Linked DNA regions of Homo sapiens: regions 1 and 3 are each linked to region 2. Evidence: promoter capture Hi-C in human tissues and cell types (Jung and others, 2019). All regions are on one chromosome and are shown on one strand. Each heading gives the region's core, a stretch centred on a gene start or on the middle of the fragment in contact. The rest is flanking DNA. Distances are from core to core; before and after follow the strand shown.

Region 1 (3,648 bases), core at 1,035-3,534, 1.1 Mb before region 2:
AGTATAGAGATGAGGGGTGAGTTCTCCGGTTCTCACTTTACCTTTCTGTGATGACTCATGAGGTCACATATTCCAGATGGTACAGCTACAAGGTAGTGGAGCCTCTGTCATCCTGGCTTCTTGAGTGACTGTGTGGAGCAGAGTCCCCTTGCAGAGCCGCTGTGGACATGGAACATGAGTGAGAAATAAACATCTGCTCTGTTAAGCCACTAAAATTTCAGGATTAATTTGCTATCACAGCATAACCCAGCTTTATCTTTACCAATATACAAGACACTTTTATCATCTTACAGTGATGTTGGACAATCGATTTGTTTATTATTAAAAAGTTTAATGAGATTTGCTTTAAGCTTCAGCAACAGTTGCTGGAGAAACAATATCTGACTGCAGTGGGCAGGGCTGGGACTAGAGTGAGACAAGTGAGAGACGTAAAAGGCCCAAACTATTCATCTCAGCATTGCTCTCGAGAGCTCCTGCTTTGTAAAGGAACAAGTAAAAATGATTTGTAATCTCACTCCTCCTTCAGGCAACAAAGACTCACTGAGACCAGCATGCCAGAGCTCAGCACTGGGACAGAGGAGTAAATAGGCATTGTCCTGGTCCTCAAGGAAGTCACAGTCAAATGAGAAACCAGACAGATAAGGACAACATGGGGTGGTTGTTTCCCAGAAGGAGGGGTAAGCCAAGGGCTTAGCAGCCCAGATGAAGCAGAGGCCTCCTCCAGTTGGACTCTGTGGGCAGCTCAGCTCCCTTGACAATGACTGTTGAGAAAATGCCAGCCACGCAGTGCCTTGTGCTGGTGTTTGGAGAAGAGTTGTGTGCTGGTAATTGATGGTGTGTACTTGTTCAGATGTCCCAAATAGCTGATGATTTGATTATGAGGACTTTACAACCACTCAGGCCCAGGCTCATTCTGGTTTTCCAAAGAAGATGATTCCAGACACACACCAATCGAGAGGACTCATGCTAGGCATTGGGCATAGAGCCTGGCACAAGGCCTGGTCACAGGAATTGCCCAGTAAAGGGCAGTTCTTCTCTGTCCTCCATGTCTGTTGGCCAGAGTTAAGTCATGGGAGTGGTCACAAAGAGGGAGGAGGCAGGAAACCTTATTAATAAAGAAGTTGATGGCATTTATAAGTAAAATAATGTTAAGTGAATATCTGTGATTTGCTGGGCATGAGTCTAAGTACTTTATCTGTAAGAACTCACTTAATCCTCAGAAGAAACCCAATGAGAGAGGTATTCGCTTTCGTCTCCCACTGCTGCTGTGATAAGCCATCACAAACTTGGTGACTTAAAGCAACACAGACTGATTACATTACAATTCTGGAGGTCAGAGATCTGACATGAAACTAACTGGGCTAGAATTTTAAGGTGTTGGAAGTGCTGTCTTCCTTTGTGGAAACTCTAGGGAAGAATCCATTTCCTGGCCTTTTTCCCACTTCTAAAGGCCGCCTGCATTTCTTGGCTTATTGCCCCTTCTGCCTTCAAAGCTAGCAGTGTCACCTGAGTCGTCCTTACACTACCATCTCTGGTTCTCTTCTGTCTCTCTCATCTCTGTTTGAAGATGCTTTTGACTATGTTAGGTCTACCTGGATTATCCAGGATAATCTATTTACCTCAAGGTCAGCTGATTAGCAACCTTAATTCCATCTGCAACTTTAATTTTCTTTTGCCATGTAACCTAACATATTCACAGGTTCCAGGGATTAGGACATAGACACCTTTGGGAGGGGATTATTCTACCTACCAGAGAGAGTACTGTTAATAAAGGAGGTACTATTAAAGGAGGACCAAGACCATCACAGTGATTGCAAGAGTCAGCACTGAATTTACTAATTTAACAACCAAGGGAAGATAACTTGGGGAAGAAATACACTGAGTGGCTCCCTGAAGGGAAAATGTCAGTGAGTTTTACGTGCAGGCAAGAAAGTTTCGTTGTGATTATGCTAATTAAGAATCGAAGTTTGCATCCTAGATTAGACAAAATAAATCAATTGATCCATACATTAAAATGTCTTTTTATATTCACCAAGCGAGAGGCTTCAGGTTGGTCTAGGGAAGATCTGGTGTCCTGAGGTCACTCCAAGTCCGTAGATGTTTATCTGCTTCAGTTGGTTAGTATTGCCAGTGTGGTAAAACTCAGCATTCAGTGCCTGTACAAGTGGAAAGTCCTTTTTTTTTTCTTTTAAACAGTACTATTATTGTTCCCAGTTTACAGATGAGGAAACTGAGACTTACAGACACCACATAACTTGAAGATAGTAAAGCCAGGATTCATACCTGAACAACTGAGGCCAAGTCTCCCTTTCTCCTTTTTTTCCCAAAGCAAATGTAGTTTCTTTATTTCTCTATAAATCATCAGCTGACCCTCACAATTTAGTTGAATCCAGAAACATAATTCAAGGTAGTCATTGAAATCATCCCTCTAGTTACATGCTCAGTCTATTTTAGCAATACACTAAGTCTCTCAGATTTTTTTCTTACAATATTTACCCCTCAACTACTCTCCCAAGGCTATGTCTAAAGGGGCAGGGGTTGGTGGGGGAGGTTTCCCTTGACCTCATGGAGGTGAGGAAGTGGGCAAGTGCCCTGGAGTCATGTCCTCCGCCTCTGCGTTGGTCTGGTCTGTATAGTTGCTGGACTGGCCTTTTCCTGGGGCTGGGAGCACCCAAGGTCCATTAGGGTCTTAGTGCCCATGATCACAGCTCTTGAAAGCCTCTGTACCCCGAGCCTGCAAGTCTCCTTTCTTAATCGCTTTATTCAAGGACTCAAGACTCCAGGTGTTGCCGACACTCTTCTCCTGAACCCACCCAATCTAAGAGGCTGCAAGTGGAGAATTCAACAATGGCACTTCCTGGGGGTTGAGAGGCTCAGATGGAAAAATCAATGCTTATCTCTGCCAGGAGTTTTGGGAAAATGCATTTCTTGAGTGAATGGGGACATTTGCAGATGAAATTCACCAACCATCAGGCAGCCAGTGCCTCTTGCAGCAGAAAACATGATCAGCTTCTGACATTAACCCCAGGGCAGGAAGGAGCAGCTCATTAAGCTCTGGCAGGGATGCTGACAGCCACAGACGTGAGACCATGTTTATAAACGACTTACAGTGGGGACCAGTGACACCTCATTATAGGCGCCCATCAAGGGCCTGTTCTTCCCTCTTTATCTCCCTCTATCAATCTTCCAGTGCAGAGTCTGTAATTAGGACCTGTATTGACTCTTGATCAATTTGTTTAGTTAGGCCGAGGAAGAACACTGCTGGTTACGTGTACACATTGAAAAGGTTGTCATGTGAGTGTGTGTGTGTGTGTGTCTGTGTCTGTGTGTTGTAGGGGGCACGGAGGGAGGGACACAGGATTCCTGGCTCTGCCTGTAGCCACAGAAGTACGCCTGAGGGATTCAGTTTCTCTCTGATGTGGTTCCTCATGTCTTTGGGGGCTGCCATGACAGCTGGCACCCAGCCCTCCCTGAGATGATTTGGGATGCCTGATACTTTCACTGTGTTACATAGAATTGCTCCCTGTGAGTTGGGTTCTGCACTGTGCCATGTGGATTAATTCTTGCATAGGCCCTGACAAACTTCTCCAATGAGGAAATGAAAACTTAGTGTGGACAAGTAACTTGTTGGGGGTTAAGGTAACCCCA
Region 2 (3,742 bases), core at 131-2,630:
CCTTCTTTCGGTGAAATAATAAATGGGCACAGCTGTTGCTTAGCGATCCGAAACCAGCCTGTTCCTGCGTCCCACGGGCTGATCTCAGCCTGTCCCCGCAATCCCAGCCACCTCAGGCCGGCGTGGTTACACCAAAAGCAATCGGTGCTAAGAAACTTTAAGGTGATTTTGAACTTGGAAGTACACCTGCAGCACTCCCTTCTCTTCCCTCCGCCGCTACTCTTGGGGGGGGGGGGGCTCGGGGGTGGAAGCTGCCTGCGGTGGGGCTTGGTGATGTGTAAGACCCTGGACTGTGGTGCCCTCCAGCACCCGCCAACGTGCCTTTAGGAGCACGGCAGGCACCACCCCCCCGCCCCCGCTCCCCCTACTCTGGGGAACTACCTCTGCTCACCGCCTTCCCGTGGCCAAACCCAAATATGAGTTCCCCGAACTTTTCAGGAGCGGACGCGCTCACGGGTCAAATCCACTCCCCTCCAAGGGCCTTAACACGGGCGCCCAGCTACCTCGGAGAAAAGCCAGCGGGTAGGGCGGAGGTATTGCTCTCGGTCATCAACGCAAACATCCCCTCGGGTGCCTACAGCGGCCTGCTTAGGGGAGCAGCGTGTTCAGAGCAAATGGAGAGCTTCCTGTATCTCCGAGGAAAAAAGAAAAGCCGCCGCCCCGGCAGCCTCGGCCTGCTGGGGACCTGTCCTCCCCACTAAAAGCGCGCGCTGCCCGAGGAGCTGCCCGGGAGAGAACGCTCCACCCCGGGCGTCGGTGCCGCTCCTCGTCTCGCCGCCCCAAACACTCAAGTGGCAGATTCCGACAAGTGGGAGGCAGCAAGTGGAAATATTCGCAACAACCGCGGAAAGTTACTCCAGCCCGGGGGGCCGGCAGGAAACTGAAGCGGGGAACTTCGCCAAACGCGGGCTGCCGAGGGACGCGAGGGGCCGGGCTCGCTGGCCGGGGCGCGCGGGGACACTGCTTCCCGCGCCTGCAAGCTGAGACCCGGGTTCCGGCCATGGGGACCCGCGCCCCCGCGAGCCCACACAACTTTCTCCTCCGAGGGCCCCGCGGCTGGGGGCCCGCGCGCATCCAGGAGGGAGCGGGGAGCCCAGGGGAGCCGGGCGGGCGCACTCACCTGCGGCGCTCTGAGCCCGGGCGCCGGGCAGTGGCGGCAGCTGCAGCCTCAGGAGCAGGCTGAGGGCGAGCGCGGCGAGGCTCGCCATCCGGGCGGCGGCGGGCAGCTCAGCCCCTTCCCGCGGGGGCCGGGGCCGGGACTGGGGCGGGCGCGGGGTGGCCCCGCATCGCCGGCGCGGCCGCTGGCTGTGCGCGCGGCTGGCTCCGCTCGGGCTCCCGGAGCCGGCGCTCCTGCGTTCCAAGCCGAGGCGCGGCGCGAACTGAGGCGGGAGGCTGGGCGGGGGCGGGACGCGGGGGGCGGGGGGCGGTGTCCCCCGAGTCCTAACGCCGCCGCCGTTGCCGCCGCCGCCGCCGCCGCCGCCCGCCCGGGCGCTCCGCCTCGGCCGTGCACACACCCTCACGCGCACGCCCGCGCCTGGCACACGCCCGCGGCTGGCACACGCGGGCTCCCCCGCGCACCCTCTCCGGGGCCGACCAGCTCGGGCCGCTGGCACAGTCACGCGCGTCCACACATCACCCCCGCACCCACACGCCGGGCAGGGTCCTCGCCTCTTCGCCCCGCGCCGCGCCGCGCAGCCAAGCATCGTCTGCCCTGTGGGGGCGCAGGTACGGGGGCGGTGCGGGGAGGAGGAAGCTGCAGCAGCCGTTTGAACTCGGGGTGGGGAACAGGTGAATGGGGGTTCGGTGGCGAGAAGAGGGAGGGAGGGAGCAGCCCTCGCAACTCAAGATAAGGGGCCAGGTGAATTGCGAAAGCGGGTGGGGGCGTCTGCCCAAAGCTGGGGCAGGCGGCTGCTGGCCAGGGTCTCGGGCACACCCTGAGATGAGAATTTCATCTAAGAGCGCGCGCGCGCACACACACACAACCCACTCACACTCTTCTGGGCGCATCGCTGACCGCGCCACAATCGTCGTCCCCCTCAATTAGCCGCCCACCCCACCTTCTTCTTCACCCACATCTCTCTCTTGTCCCCACCACCACGCGGAAGGGGGCGCAGAAGGGGCATGAGGCATCCCCCCACCCCCTACAATTTTTCCCTGGCAGCCTTCCCTTTCCTTTTCTAGGGAGACAGAACCTTGTAGCTTTTTCCCTTTTCTTCTCGGTCTTAACAAAGACCTGGTTGGGGCTGAAAGCCTAAAACCATAGATCAGGGTTGGAGCTGTCCCTGGCAGCCCACGGCCCACAGCCTGGCTCTCTGCTGTCCTGGGAGGCAGCTGGTACCTGAGTCTTGGCTGGGGGTCTGAGATGTAAAAGCCAGGGGCAGGGATACCCAGAAATGCTTAAGGGATTCACACTTTGTGAACACTTTGCTACCTGGCCAAAGCCCTCCTTCTTCTGTGTCAGCACAGCCCCCCACCCCCATCCTTGTTGGGGTACCAGGGACTGGACTGGGGAGACTGTAAGTGAATTGTGAAAATCAAGCATGGCAGGGTTTCCAAAAGTGGGGAGCCCCAGGCTCTGGACCCAAGTTGGCATGGCAGAGAACACAGGGCGTCACTCTGTCAGTCCCCAGTTCCCAGTCCCCACTAGGTAAAGTGGCCCAGTTCCCTGGCATGGAAGCCCAATTTACAATCCCAGGCAAATTCTTCCACCCCTCTCCGGACCCCGACTCCCACCACCACCACCATGACCGTGACCACTTTCAAAAGCTGACGTGCTTGGACTAGCCTGTTGGACCAGCCAGTGCCTCCCACACTTGCCTGGTCAAAGAACTACCAGGAAGATTTCTCCAAGTCCTGCTTCCCAGACCCCTGCTGGGGAGAGTGGAATTTGGCAGGCCTGTCGGGGGTGGCCTGGGAGTTGAACCTTTTACAAGCTGCTTTGGAGATTAATAATTCTACCAATATTTATGGTGCATTTAATTGTGTGCCTTACTCTGTGCTGTTCTCTGGGGATACCACAATGCTATAGCCCTTAGGGACAATTGGAATGGAAAGATCCCTTCTGCTCAGAGCTGAGCTTCCAGCTGTTTGCTCCATCACTCACTCATTCTAACCCTGCCTTGGGCAGATGAGCAGTTAGGAAGTGTGCGAGGAGAGGCCTGACCCAAGACCACCACAAGCGACCCCAGTCATGGCAGATCCCAGGGGATGACCCGGGTGGGGAGATTTCTAAGCCACTAAAGAGCTTGGTGTCACACTTGTAACTTGTTGCCACTTTCTTGGGCTCCTGCCAATTCATCCCCTCTCTCAAGCTTTCTGGAAAACTATAAAATAGCAGTTCTCACAGCATCCTCAGAGCAACGCCCTTTGGCACCCCCCTGCACTCCTGCTTTAGGGATGTGATATCACTGCAGACAAATCCCCCAGGTCTGAATGGGGTTCATGTGGCCCCGAGGGGAAAAAAAAAATTCAGTAGTCACTGAGCTGGTGGAGTGGGACCTGATCCTGCACCAGGACTTACCTGCCCAGGTGCACCGTGGTCATGAACCGTGACCCTCTGTGCTTTCTAAACCTCCCTCTACTCCGAGAAACTGCCCCCTCTCCTTCAGTAGCACGTGCTGCCACCTGCTGCCCGGCCAGGCTCTGGCACCCACAGCACTGCCACGCTTTTGCACCGGCCAGTCCCTCTGCCTGGAAGCCCTGCACTGTATCATCTCCCTGGGAAACTCACACTAGCCCTTAG
Region 3 (4,108 bases), core at 192-2,691, 1.0 Mb before region 2:
TGCAAGTCATAAGGGAGTCAATGTTACAGGGAAACAGTCCCTGAATAGTTGCCCTTATGGGATGTCAAAGCTTTGAGGATCCCTGGCAGCTGCAATGAGAGGTCTGGACTGTAATTCCTATCTTCTTGTCTATTGAAATGCATCAGAAGAACCAGGGTTAAATCCTGGCTCTACTACTTATTAGTCAAAGGCTTTGGGCAAATTAATTAACATCTCACATGTTAAGCCATGTATTAGTTATCCACTGCTACTTGACAAACTACCCCCAACCACAGCAGCTTAAAATAACAAACATATACGATCTCAGTTTCTGCAGATAGAAATCTGGTTGCAGCCTAGATGTGTATCTCTGGCTCAAGGTCTTTTGTGAGGTTGCACTCAAGCTGACCGCTGTGGTAATGATCTCATCTGAAGACTCAGCTGGGAGAGAATTCAAGTTAACTGATTTCATAATCACTGACATGATACTGACAGATTCATTTTTTCATGGGCTACTGCAGTATGGGACTCAGTTCCTTGCTGGCTGTTGGCTGGGCATCTCCCTCGATTTCTTGCCAATAGGTCAACTTACAATATAGTAGCTAGCTTCCCAAGGAACAGACAAGTGGGAGTGAGAGAGAGCACCCAAGATAAAAGCCACAGTCTTCTTAAAGACAAATCTTGAAAGGGACATCTCATCACTTTATCATATCCTATTCATTGGAAGCCAGTCACTAGATCTTGGCTGCAATGAGGAAGGGCGTTATATAAGAATGTGGCATAGGAGGCAGGGATCATTGGGGCCATCTTAAAGTTTGCCAACCACAAATCCTAATATCATTCTGCAATGTTTTTGTGAGAACCAAAAGAGGTAATGTCGATGAAAGAACATTTAAATATACACATATGAGAGTATATTATAATAATTCATTCCAAGGAGTCCAGTCAAAATCTTCCAGCTGACTTTGCTTAGCTTTGCCAAGTATTCCAAGGCATTCACTTAATAAAAGTTTTTTAATTCATGAAAGCTTCTAAAGTACCCTCTTTACACTTTTCCAAAGAGTTTTCCAAGATCTGATTTTTCAAGGAAAGTAAATGGTTTAATTTTCCTTATCACATGAATTGCCATTGACAACAATCTTTAATCGTTAAAGAGTTAACAATGTACTTTCAATTGCTTTACGCAGATAAAAAATCCATTCCCTAAGACAATGAATTAGCCACATAATTGACAGCCAATTCCAGTAATAAAACGCTAATTAAGTGATAATGCTAAGTAAAAAATATAATGTGATGAATTTGCTAAACAATGGCCTAACTAATAAATTTTCATGCTAAATAAATGATTTGGAATGGTGACTAAACCCTCACCACATTTAGGGTCAGTTGAAAAAGCAATGATGCTTTCAGAAAACAATGACAGAAGTGACTGTGCCAGCTAACATCCTTAACAGTATTACACTGGGCTCTTTGCCAAGCAGGGCCAAGGGACTAAGTCTGAATGGGGTAGGTGTACCGGAATCTGGGGGGCTGGAGCAATCACCATGATGATAGTATGGGTGACTAGCCTAAAGAAAGGCATGGAATAGCCAAGTATAGCCAGCTGTAGTAATAGCAGAACCCAGCAATGGGCAAGAAGATGCAGAAATCAATGCTAGATCATCTTGAGCTAAAGAAGATCAGGGTCAGCACCAAGGACAGATCCTGGATGCGGTGGCTCCGGGAAGATTCCTGCAGATAGACGTGTTTTGTCATAAACAAGGAAGTCAAAGATTACAGAGTTTTCTCCTTACCCCAGAAGGCTAGGCTAGTGGTGAGACTCAGCTCTCATAGGCACAAGGGTCTTCACTATTTTTTGGAAGCACCATGGTTTCAACCCATTTAATTTACAATGGTACCTTCTGAAAGGATCTAAATTTAGAGGAGAAGTCCATATTTCTTATGGGTTCCACTGGTTTTGACTGACCTTTACAGCTGGAACAGGGTTCTAGCTTCCACATATCAGGCACATGCTTGCCTTGGGAGCCTCTAATAGAGACACTCTTTCCTGACATGGCTCACATCTGTTACCTTTTTAAAGTCTTTAGTCAGATGTCATCTTCTATAAAACTGCAATCCTCCTCCACTTATGACTCCTGATCCCATTCAGCATGTTCTATTGTTTCAGTGCACCCTCACTTGTTATTATGTCATATCATATAATGTACTTATCTTTTGCTGTCCATTGCTTATTTCCTGTCTCTCTTTCCACTTCCTACCATCAATGGAATGTAAGCTCTAGAAAGACAGGGAATTTTTAATTTCTGTATTCTTCACTGATGTATATTAAAAGTGCATAATATGTCAGGCACATAGTAGGTGCTCAACAAACCTTGTTGAATAAATGAGTGGCAGCATGTTCAGAAGCTTGTTACACTCTAACCTCTGAAGAGAGTAGTGCAATCTTAGAAATCAGTGGAGTAAACAAGAGCCTATATCCTCTGATTTTAAGACACCACTGTCCCAGTATGCCATCCTCTTACTTAGTGGCTTCAGAGGTGTCCGCATATTTCTCACTATTCGGGAGGGAGTACATTATAGTAGTAGGATCATATGCAAGAGAAAGATTAAGTTTAAATCCTAGCTCTACTACTAATAGCTATGTGACCTTGAGCAAGTTATTTAATCTCCCTGAACCTCAATCTCCACATGTGTGAAAGAAGCCTAGTACCAACAATAATCATCAACTCATAGGTTTTAAGGATTAAATGATATAACGTATGCACAGCATCTAGCATAGTCCTTGGCACACAGTTAGGGCTCAATAAATATTAGTTTCTTGTACTTTCCCATTTAAATACAATATGATACATCCCTTAATACATAAGAGTAAATTGACTTTTCAGATTATGCCAGATATTGGGAAGGCTCACAAGGGCATGAAATTGGAGAAGAGTAAGCTGTGACTGGGGAAGTGTAAAAGGCTAGAAGCCTAGAGCCCTCTGGAGGAGAGAGGGGAGATCACAAGGGTAGGGGCAGTAGGGGACACAAAGTGGGTCTGAAGAGTGTTCCCTCTGTTTTCCAGGGCTACACTGAGTGGTAGAGAGTCCAAGGAAGCCAGTATTTGGTGATGGGGCCTTTAGAACTGATGACTAGGACAAAGATACAAGGATTAGGACTTTCTAAGAAATGGAGGTGCAAAGTGCACCATATATCTCTCCCAGACTAGTGCAATGGTCCCCTCCCTTGTCCTCCTCCCTCAACCTTCCTCTATGGGATTAAAATCTAAGAGTAACCCTAGTCATCGCTATGTCTGCAGGTCCTCATTGTCCCAGCAATGCATAAGATCAGTTGACTGAATACTGAATAGTGAAAGTGAACCATTGTGATCTATCCTGACTTAAAATTAGCATAATGATTCATTCAACAAATACCACTCAATCGTATTCATAGGCCAAGCACCATACTAGTCTCCAGGGATATAGTAGAAGCCCGGACAGAAGTTGTCTATGCAATCATGGTTTAAAAGTCTGGTGAAGATGACAGACATTAGCCAAAAAATTATTAAATGAATAAACATTTGCATACAAGAAATTTCTGACACATGCTAAGAGGGACTAGAATGTAGTAAAATTAAAAAAAAACAACAAGTGGCCACTGTTTAGATAGACAATTTAGGGAATCCCTCAAAAGAAGACATTTAATCATAGACCTGAAGGATAAAAAGTGGCTAAACAGTGAAATATAGAGTGGAAGACTGTTCTGGAAAGAGCAAACAGAATTGTGAAAGCCATATTTTGGGAAATGCTTAGTGTTTTCAAAGAATAGGAAGGAGGTCAATATGACTGGAGTATATTGAGCAAGACAGAGAGTAGCCAGAGATGAGACTAAAGATGCTGACAGAAGTCATGTCATTCTGAGCCTTGTAGGCCACGAGGTTAATTTTTACTTCATCTGGAGGGCAATGGGAAGCCAATAACGGATTTTTGGTTGAGCAGTGGCATTGTGAGTTTGTTTTTTAAAATTGAAGAACACGCTAGGCAAATGGCTATTTCATAAATAAAGCATAACAAAGATAGTGAGTTATTGGTATACTTCTGCTGATGGATCAATATGAAAGGAGAATGATGGGATAGAATAAGAAGGGTTA

What was found. Contacts are between HindIII fragments. The study calls those that stand out against the background at their distance.
Region 1: a fragment that was not itself captured here is called in contact with the fragment with the promoter of PTPRT in region 2 in 1 of the 25 tissues and cell types used here (dorsolateral prefrontal cortex).
Region 3: a contact is called between a fragment that was not itself captured here and the fragment with the promoter of PTPRT in region 2, in 1 of the 25 tissues and cell types used here (dorsolateral prefrontal cortex).

Annotation. Positions count from the first base shown.
Region 1 is chr20:42,043,481-42,047,128 of GRCh38, forward strand. All of the region lies in intron 2 of LOC101927182 (a long non-coding RNA gene), which reads left to right. It also overlaps a transcript of PTPRT not described here. Among named protein-coding and RNA genes, the nearest start is that of CHD6, 430 kb to the left of the region's middle. The HindIII fragment of the contact is 4,523 bases long and covers 24-3,648 here.
Region 2 is chr20:43,188,526-43,192,267 of GRCh38, forward strand. PTPRT (protein tyrosine phosphatase receptor type T) reads right to left here and starts at 1,381. Exons shown (of 31, transcript NM_007050.6): 1 at 1,121-1,381. The coding sequence starts at 1,208. It overlaps PTPRT-DT (PTPRT divergent transcript), which reads left to right and starts at 1,540. Exons shown (of 3, transcript NR_186414.1): 1 at 1,540-1,725. The HindIII fragment of the contact is 13,787 bases long and covers 1-3,643 here.
Region 3 is chr20:42,178,307-42,182,414 of GRCh38, forward strand. All of the region lies in intron 16 of PTPRT (protein tyrosine phosphatase receptor type T), which reads right to left. Among named protein-coding and RNA genes, the nearest start is that of CHD6, 560 kb to the left of the region's middle. RefSeq lists a silencer at 1,560-1,760. The HindIII fragment of the contact is 4,223 bases long and covers 1-3,553 here.